2 separate regions of the Homo sapiens genome follow, and region 2 is linked to region 1. Evidence: promoter capture Hi-C in human tissues and cell types (Jung and others, 2019). All regions are on one chromosome and are shown on one strand. Each heading gives the region's core, a stretch centred on a gene start or on the middle of the fragment in contact. The rest is flanking DNA. Distances are from core to core; before and after follow the strand shown.

Evidence for each region. Contacts are between HindIII fragments. The study calls those that stand out against the background at their distance.
Region 2: a fragment that was not itself captured here is called in contact with the fragment with the promoter of EDN3 in region 1 in 1 of the 25 tissues and cell types used here (dorsolateral prefrontal cortex).

Annotation. Positions count from the first base shown.
Region 1 is chr20:59,297,593-59,302,173 of GRCh38, reverse strand. It overlaps EDN3 (endothelin 3), which reads right to left and starts at 1,563. Exons shown (of 5, transcript NM_207034.3): 1 at 1,310-1,563; 2 at 452-764. The coding sequence starts at 1,361. The HindIII fragment of the contact is 7,655 bases long and covers 1-4,581 here.
Region 2 is chr20:59,262,959-59,268,076 of GRCh38, reverse strand. No RefSeq gene overlaps it. Among named protein-coding and RNA genes, the nearest start is that of EDN3, 35 kb to the left of the region's middle. The HindIII fragment of the contact is 4,349 bases long and covers 367-4,715 here.

The sequences.
Region 1 (4,581 bases), core at 314-2,813:
AGACTCCCTGGAGACCAGGATGCTTTCAAGGAATTTTAAACCCCTTGGATCCTGGTGGGGTCAACAGTGAGTATGAGCCCCCTTGGCCCCTGGGGAATGAGATAAACTTTCGGGGCTTTCTCTATCTCAGAAAAGAGGCTCAGAGAGACATCTCAGGTATCTAATCCCCCTGGTCAGTTCACTTCATTCAGAGGGAGGGCTCCTCCTTCCACAGGATCAAACTCAGGATTGAGTTTCTCTTGGGCCAGGCCCTCAGGGGGGATGTGGGTCACACCCCTGACCTGCAGAAGAGACCTGGGCTGGCAAGAGGCCCCAGCAAGAGCTAAAGGCTGTGCCAGGGCAGGCTCTGGGCTAACTGAGCGGGGCTGGGGTGGAGTGAGGTCCTCCTGGGAATGAGCAGATGTGGGCCTGGTCCGGGAGCCACGTTCCTCACCACAAAAGGCTGACTTACTCGGGAGTGTTGATCCAAATGATGTCCAGGTGGCAATAGTAGACACACTCCTTGTCCTTGTAGGTGAAGCACGTGCAGCGCCTGGATCGGTGGTGCTCAGGGGCCCCCTCGGCCGCCTGCTCCTGCCCAGGGCTTCCAGGGCTTGGACCCTGCAGTGCTGTCGGGGCCACAGTCCCCTCGCCAGGGCCAGCCACAGTCTCCTCGCCAGGGCCAGCCACAGTCTCTTCACAGTCCCCCTCAGATCTGGCTGCAGTGGGGGCCTGGGACACGCCGCGCCTGCCAGCATCCCCAGACTGGGAGCAAGGCACGAATCCTGCAGAAGGCAGATTGAGGGGCTCCTAAGCTGAGTGTGCAGACCCCTCAACACCCGCCACCCCCAAACACCTGAGGAGGGGGGTGGAGCAAGCAAAATGTCTGCAAAGTTTCCAAAGCTCTGCGCAGTTTCTGAAAAGTTTCCAAGCTATCTGCACACTCTGTGAAAAGCTTGCAAGCTATCTGCACCCGTTGAAAACTTGCATGCATTTTGCATACTTTCTGCAAACTTTGCCAGGGTTTGGCACAGCCTCTGAATAGTTCGCAAACTTTCTGAAAAGTCCCCAGTTTCATGAAAAATTGACCAAGTCGGCCCAGGCAGCAGGTCTCCAGCCAGTGCGCGGGCTGCAACTCCCGGAGCCCGTGCGGGTAGTCGTTGCGCGCCGCTTCTGCTCCCCAGCCCTCCCCCAGGCGTCTTCACGAGTGCAGAGCCCAGGCAAGAGTTTGCTCCCCGCGACGCACATCTTCTCCGCGCCTCGGGTCCCCCGCCCTGGGTCCTTTTGTGTGCGCTCGCGCCAGGAGAGGCGCGCCGCCCCGTGCGCTTACCTGCGGCGGAGGTCACTGTGAGCCCGAAAAGGAGCCACAGCCCCGGCTCCATGAACCTAGATCAGGCGCCGGAGCACCGGACCAGGAGGACGGCCGCTTGTGGCCGCGAAAGGGCACTGGGGCCGGGTACAGCTGGCCTCGCCCTCCAGCTGTGGGGGTTCGAGGCCGGCCGATCGCTCGCTGCGTCTCCAGCTCCGGCCAGGAGTTGGCTGCGGCGGTCATAAACTTTCAGAGCGCGCTGCCCATCCCTGCGCGGAGCTGGCCGGCTGTGGCTCGGGCTTTTCTGGCTTCTGCACCACCCCCGTCGCCTCCCCGCCCCCCAGAGGGGCTGGAACTGCCTCGCCGGGCCTTTGAACCCGGGCGCACTGGGGGTCGCCTCCCAGGCGCTGGGGGGAGCTGGCCAGGAGCGCAGCGGCCCGAGGCGCACCCAGGACAGCGAGGGGCGGGGGCGGCGTGGCGTGGCGCGGCTGGGTGGGGTGGGGTAGGGTGGGGTGGGGGCCGGGACAGCTGCCAGCTGCCGGAAGGCCACGAGAGCGCGCGCACACACGCACACGCGCGCTCACACTCACAGGCGCACCCCCGCCCGCCAGTTCGCCGCTCCGGAGTAGCAGCCCCCCATCCAAGAGCAAGAACAGATGAGAAAAGGCTGTGCTCAAGGGGTGTTATCTTTTCTATCAGGGGCTGAGGGAAAGACACATTTCTCATTGTTCCCCGAGTGACACCTTCCCCTTGAAGAGCCTGCTTGCCAAGGAACTCGGTGTACTTTACACTCTTGACTCACGCCTCGGGCTGGCTCCCTACCTCTCCCAGGAGTTCAGAGCCTGCGTGTGGGGCAGTGGCCTGGGAGCAAAGTCAACAAAGATCCTGGGTTAGCGGTCCTGTGGTGTCCAGGGCTTCCTCAGCCATCTGCACAGGTTGGGTGGCTTCAGGTGAGAGTCGGGCTCCTCTCCCTAAAGGCCAAGTTCATTCACACAACCGTCCCTACCAAGGGAAATGACCTCCCAAGAGAGCCCCCTACTTCCTTCATAGCCTTCCAAGTCCTGTGTGTGGGAGGCTGTCCCCATCTCCAGCTCAGATAAAAATGTCTGAGACTGGGAAGTCCTCCTGACTTCTCAGGGCACTTGTGGTCAAAGGACCCTCCTTTCATAACAGATGGGGTTGGGGGAGGGGCAGTGCTTCACATCTGTAATTCCAGCTCTTTGAGAGGCCAAGGTGGATGGATTGCTTGAGCCTGGGAGTTCAAGACCAGCCTGGGCAACATAGCGAGACCTCATCTCTAAAAAATGGGGTTGAATTGGGTCCTGCCCTCTACTAGCCTTAACGACCAGCTTCTGAAAACTAGAAAGCAGCTGAAGTGACCAGAGCAGTTTCTGAGGACAGTCCAAAAGAGTGCTACAACATCCCCCTGGCTTGATAGCTCAGGACACCTGTCCTCTGAACACAGCTGCTGTACCAGGAGGAAGCCCTAACAAGCCCACCTGGAGAGATCACCTGGAGAAACCTACGTGGAGAGAAACCGAGGCCTCCCAGCCGACCACCAGTGTCAGCCACTGACCTGAGTGAATGTGCCTTCCGATGATTTGAGCTCCCAGCCCTCAAGACTTCCAACTGAGGAATAGCTGTCCCGCTGTACCCTGTCCGAACTTCCCACCCACACAATCCATGAGCATAATAAATGGTTGTTTTACAGCACTAAACTCTGGGTAAATTGGTACAGAGCTGCAGTAACTAGAGTAGCACTCAAGCTTCCAGCACTGAAGCTGATGCTGAAGTTCTCCATCCCCCCACTCCCATCCCATCCTGCCTAGCCCTTGAATCCAAGTGTTTATTTGTTTGTTTTTGCACTTGATGCTTTGAAAATAAGAAAAACCCAAGACTCACAATATCTTCTGTTCCTGCTGGGCTAGAATTTGGATCATTTTAGTATTATCTTTGTTTGTTGGGGCTACTATAACAAAACGCCATAAGCTGGGTGGCTGATAAACCGCAGAGTTTTATTTTTCACATTTTTGGGGTCTGGAAAACCAAGATCAAGGTGCTGGTAGATTCGGTGTTTAATAAGGGCTCGATTTCTGATCATGGATGGTGACTTCTCACTGCATCCTCAGTTGTGGAAGGGTCAAGGCAGCTCTCTGGGGGTCTCTTTTCTAAGGACACCAACCCCATTCATGAGGGCTGCAACCCTCATGACTTAATCACCCCTCAAGGGCCCCACCTCCTGACATCATCACCTTCATGGATAGGATTTCAACAGATAAATCTGGAGAGGACAAATATTCAGACCATAATAATTACTATCTCTTTGGAATTAAAATTTCCATCTTCAACAAAATAAAAAGTTCTTGGATTGGGGGATGGCTGGAGGAATAGAAAATATACTAATCAGCTAAAAGGAGAAAAGGAGTAGGAGGAGGTTTCCGGGTACCATGTTCAGACACAGGAGGTATCATGGCTGCTTAGACCACTCTCTGGGTCTATGGCCTTCAGTAGCTTGAAGCCGACCACCACTTGTCTTCACTGGGACTAAAAATCAACAAACCCTGGATGAGCCTCTCAGGCACCAGGAGGTGCTAGCCAAATACCAGGATGGAGCTGGCCCTGCCCTCTGGGTCTTCTACTCTAGTTGAGGTAAGGAAGTTCAGAAATAGATCGCCAAGGATCCAGGATGCTGAGAACATAAAACGCCGCACAGAGCTAAGAGAAGAAGACAGTGTGTTCAGCTGGATGATCAGAGGAGGCAGCATTGTCCTTGGTCCCTAAAGCAAGCCGGGCGCCATGATTTGAGGCAGCAGCCTGCAGTGACACTCGCCAACACCAGCTCTCAAGCGAAAGAGCTCCCTTTCCTACTGTTCTTCTGGCTTCTGACGATGGCCAGGGCAATGACTCGATGTGTCTTTAACAGCTCTCGAACAGAGAGAGAGCTGTACAAAGGGATTTTTGAACAAAGGGATACAAAAGGAATGTAGCAGGCCATAGGCTTGTACAAAGGGATAGCAGGCCATAGGCTTGGAGCCTTTGTCAGGCTGTGGAATCGGGCTTACTGTGCATGGTAGTGATTGACATAAAATTCCTTTCTAAATTAATACACTTAAGTCAAGTAAAGGTAACCTCAATTACAATATGAAGTAATTCATTGTAAAGCCGGCTTGGAGACTTGGCAAGATCACAAAGCCTTCTGGGTTCCAGGCTAAGAAATGTGCAAAGGAAATATACAATTCATGTAACTCAATGGCAAGCTGGTGGTTTCCATCATTGTTTTGCCCTTGTGACAA
Region 2 (5,118 bases), core at 1,292-3,791, 35 kb after region 1:
GGCCATTACCCTAAGCAAATTAACACAGAAACAGAAAACCAAATACTACATGCTCTCACTTATAAGTGGGAGCTAAACACTGAGTCCACACGGACACAAAAAAAGGAACAATAGACACCAGGGTTTACTTGAGAGTGGAGAGTGGAAGGAGGGTGCAAATCAAAAAACTACCTATCAAGTACTCTGCTCATTACCTGGGTGACAAAATAATCTGTACACCAAACCCCCATGACACACAATTTACTCATGTAACAAACCTGCACATGTATCGCCTGAATCTGAAGTAAAAGTTGGAAACAGAAATTTAAAAAAAAAAAATAGAAAATAAGAAGGGAATTAAAACATTTCACTGCAAAAAACCAACACAGGTGGGGTGCAGTGGCTCCAGCCTGTAATCCCAGCACTTTGAGGCCAAGGCAAGAGGAGCTCGAGACCAGCCTGGGCAACACAGGGAGACACTTCCAGTACAAAAAAAAAAATTAAATAAAAAAATAGGTGGGTGTGGTGGTACATGCCTGGGGTACCAGCTACTCAGGAGGCTGAGGTGAGAAGATAGCTTGAGCCCAGGAGATTGAGGCTGTAATGAGTTATGATTGCACCACTGCATTCTAGCCCGGGTAACAGAGGGAGACCCTCTGTATAAAATATATATACATATATATATATATATATATATATATATACCTCAACACAAAAGAGATAGTAATGCAGGAAATCAGGGACAAAAAAAGCTATAAGGCATATAGAAAACAAATCACAAAATGGTAGATTTTATTGGTAATTACTTTAAATGTAAATGGATAAACATTCCAATCAAAGAGATTGACAAAGTGCATTAAAAACATGATCTATCTACATGTTGCCTACAAAAGACTCACTTTAGATCCAAAGACACAAATAGATTGAAAGTGAAAAGATATTTGTACATCCATGTTCACAGCATTACTCACAATCATGAAAATGAAGATCAACCCAATTGTCCATCAACAGATGAATGGTAAAATGCAGTATATACACACAATGGTATATTATTCAATTTTTAAAAGAGAGGAAGTTCTGACATATGCTACAACATGGATGAACCTTGAGAACATTATGTTAAGTGAAATAATCCAGTCACAAAAAGACAAATTCTATATGATGCCATTTACATGAGGGAGTAGAGTTGTCAAATTCTTAGTGACAGAAAGTAGAATAGGGGTTTCCAGGGAAATAATTTAAACAACTCCCCAACCCCTCCTTCCTGAAAGGAGAGGGAGGTCAACTCTTCCTGAAAGGACGGATTGGGGAGTTGTTTAAATGATTACAAAGCTTCAGTTTTGCAGGATGAAAAGAGTTCTGGAGATGGATGGTTTTGCAATGATATGAATATACTTAATATCACTGAACTATATGCTTAAGAGTGGATAAAATGGTAAAATATATATTATATATATGTTCATATACATTCACATATATTCATATAACATAAAATTTACCATCTTATCTATTTGAAAAAAATAAGAAAAAATAAAATTCTGTTTCTAAGTAAGTCAGAAGAGAAACTTCTTTCTCTGTAAATTCCATAGACCCAACAGTTTTCAGCAGGTATTTGGACTCATCTGGATGTGGTCTTGAGACTTTTTTTATCTTTTCACCTACAGGAAGGCAAAAATTACAAGATGATTCAAGTCATCTACTCCTTCATCCAAGGGTTAATGGACTGCAGTTCTCAAATCTTGTGGTTGACTGGCCCTGTAAGTGTTTCATTTCACAGTTTGGATTATTCCATGGAGATGAGGTTTGAGAATTACAAAGCTCAGGAAAATGGGATACTGAGACAAAAACCCAATGAGTCTGTGTGGAATATTGTGCAGCTCACACTGAATGAAGCTATTTTAATTTTAGTTAGCTCCCATTTTCAAGAATAATATAAACCTTGTAGGTAGGAGCGTGCATTTCAATTTTAAACTAACTTCTAGCTTTCTGGTCCCAGCAGAACCTCATTCCTAGATCTCCAGACACAGTATAGATTTTTTGGTCCCAGTGTTTAGGATGAAACTCCTGAGCTCTGCCTGTGCAATCCCCAGATCTTGTCTCATCTCTTCCTTCTCTCCCCTCCCCACTATCCCTGGGCCACCCCCATTGTGCTGCCAATTCCTCCAACTCAAAGCTCCCTCCACCTGGAAAACCCATTTCTTTTTCATCCTAATTCATTCCTCAGAGTTCAGCCTAAACATTCCCTGATTCTGTTGGTTCCTGGTTCCCCCAATTATCTTCTCTCATCTCACTTGGTGTGGTCTCTTTCTAGTATGCATCAAGTTGTAAATAAATAATGTATAATATTTTGTTTAATGACATCTTCTCCATCAGGTTGTGCCTGGCAGATGGCAGACACAAAATAAATACATGTTGGATGCATGGATGGAACAAAAGAAAGAAGGAAGGAAGGAAGAAAGAAGGAGGGAAGGGAGGGAGGAAGGAAGGAAGGAAGGAAGAAAGGAGAAGGGAAGGAAGGAAAGAAGGAGAGAAGGAATGAAGGGAGGAAGGAAGGAAGAAAGGAAGAGTGGAGGAAAGAAAGGAAGAAAATAAGGAAGAAAAGGAGGGAGGGAGAATGGAAGGAAGGAAAGAAGGAGGGAAGGAATGAAGGGAGGAAGGAAGAAAGGAAGAATGGAGGAAAGAAAGTAAGAAAAGAAGCAAGGAAAAGAGGGAGGGAGGGAGGAAGAAAGGAAGGAGGAAAGGAAGGAAGGAAGGAAGGAAGGAAGGAAAGAAGGAAAGAAGGAAGGAAGGAGGGAAGGAAGGCAGGTCAGTTCTCAATGGAGCCTCACAGTAGTGAATGCTATGATATGCCACCCAGAGCCCCTTTAGTGAAAGATTGTCAGCAAGCAGCCTTCAGCAATCTGTCCCTTCAGAGATTGCTTCAGTTGCAAAGAGCTGCCTCCCTCAAGGTCACAACTTTCTCAGGTAGCCCCAGGCAGCCCACATCCAGTGACTGATGAATGCAGGAGTCTAAAGTCCTGGTCTAGCCAACTTTAAAGGCCCATTCTAGCTGCAGAGCATCCCATGGGTTGGCCAAGGCTGCTGTTGCCTGTATCCATTTCCTCCTCCTCTACACAGATGTGGTTGTCCATGGTAACTCCCTAATAAACCCCTGGCACACCGAGCTCCATTTCAGAGCCTACTTCCCAGAGAACTCAACCTGAAATATTCATAATCTCTAGTAATCTAAGGCCCTCTCCTTGCAAATGGGTGGCCCCCAAACCTTAGGATAAACCAGTCGCAGAGAACTCAGGCTCCCAGGGGGAATAACACCAAGTGATATTCCCAGCTGCACTTCTAAGTTGAGCCAAAACAGTTTTTGCAAAAACCTCAGAAAAAAATGGCCTTTCTAGAGCCACTGTTGGAATCAGTAATGAGACATCTAGAAGTTTCTTTCACATGATTGAAAGAAATTTTAAGAGTAGAAAAAGTCACAGAAAGTGTAGCCTGGTGCCTGGCAATACACTAAATATCCAATAAATGTTTGTTGCAACAATGAAAGCTTCTTTTTTCTTATTCTCTGTTTCTCCCCTAAGAATTTAAAACTAGAAGATTATAAGACTAACACATTCAGCCCCATGCAGTTATTTTCTCCGAATCACTTGTTTTTAGCACAAAAGGGATAACTACTTGTGATGTATTTTTCCATTATTTTCTTTGTGCAGGAGGTTTTTAAATTAATTTAGTCTCTTTCTGCATCAGGTTGTCTTGTAATTGAAGATGTGAAGTGTTTGTCTTCCAAAGGCTTTCTGGTGATGTCTTTTTTGCTGTTAACATCTTCTTTGTCTATGCCTGTGATCCCTGCCAAATTGCCCACGGAACAGCAACTCAAGTGCATAAATTATGAGACCACATAAGCACCGGGCACATCTATTTGAGTCTAAATGTCTTAGGAGAGAAGTTTTCTTTTTGCAAAACAAACACAATCAAACCTTGATTAACTAGAACATTTGGGGGATGAGCAGTCTAGATAATTTGATTTTCTGGGTAATTTTCAGTTAACCAAAAAGTCATCAAAATTTTCAAACCCTGATGCAGAAAATCTTGACAAAAATGTCCTTCTTTCCACTTCTAGGAAAGACAGTAGAGCATAATGGAAAATTTTGGAAGCAGAAGGTGGTGGTGTCATGGCAAAAATGTTGGAGTTTAGGGGTGAAGTCCTGGTGTCAGTCACCACTTTGCCTCTCACTCAAGCTTGGGCAAAACCCTCTGGTCCTTGATTTCCCCTAAAAGGAAGAAGGAGCAAACCGATACTCTCGATTTTCTCAACTTGATGCCCAGCATTGGTGTTCATTCTTTTTCATTCCAGTTGGCTATAGAAGTTTGTAGAGCGTTTGGGTTGCATCTACTTTCACAGCAAAATCCTATCCTTCCCTATGTAAATATTTCCTTAGTGTCTACTCAGTGTTCAAGTGTGCTTGGGGATGGTAAAGCAATAAACAGCATCTATTCCCATAGACGTGTCATCCTTTCTCCTGGCTCTTTCTCCTCGAGGTGGAATGGAGCAGGGCAGGGGGATGATTTTGGGGTTTAAATTTTCATCAGTTAATGTCCTGCTGTGTGTAGGCTCTAGAAACATGTCCTAATGCAGCTGTGAAGAAATACCGGACTGTGGGCCCTGGACTCTGCCTCTGGTCCTGCCAGGGTACGTCTTTCTCTCCACTCCAGTCTCATCGTCAGCATGAGGGCTGAGCTGTTTCTGGGGCCAGCACTACACTGTCACCCTAACTCCTGAGACCAGAGCTTCTCAACCTCAGCACCTCTGGCACTATAGACTGGATACATCTTTGTTATGGGAACTGCCTTGTGTTACGCACTGCAGGACGTTGAGCAGAATCCCTGCCCTCTGCATACAGATGCCTGGGAAATAAAATTGCCCCCTCTGAGAACCACTGCCTTAAAGCATGATATCTTAATCTTTCTTGAGAAAAAGAATTTGGGAATGACAACATCAGTCATCAAATATTTGATGTTTCCTCCCAAGGAAGTTAGGTCTGAAATAGTGTCGACCTGGGTTTCTTTGCTATGTGGGATCAAAGATGCCTTCATTTCCTTTGTGCTGAGGTGCCTGGAAATTACCTTTTAGCAAAAGTAGTCCCA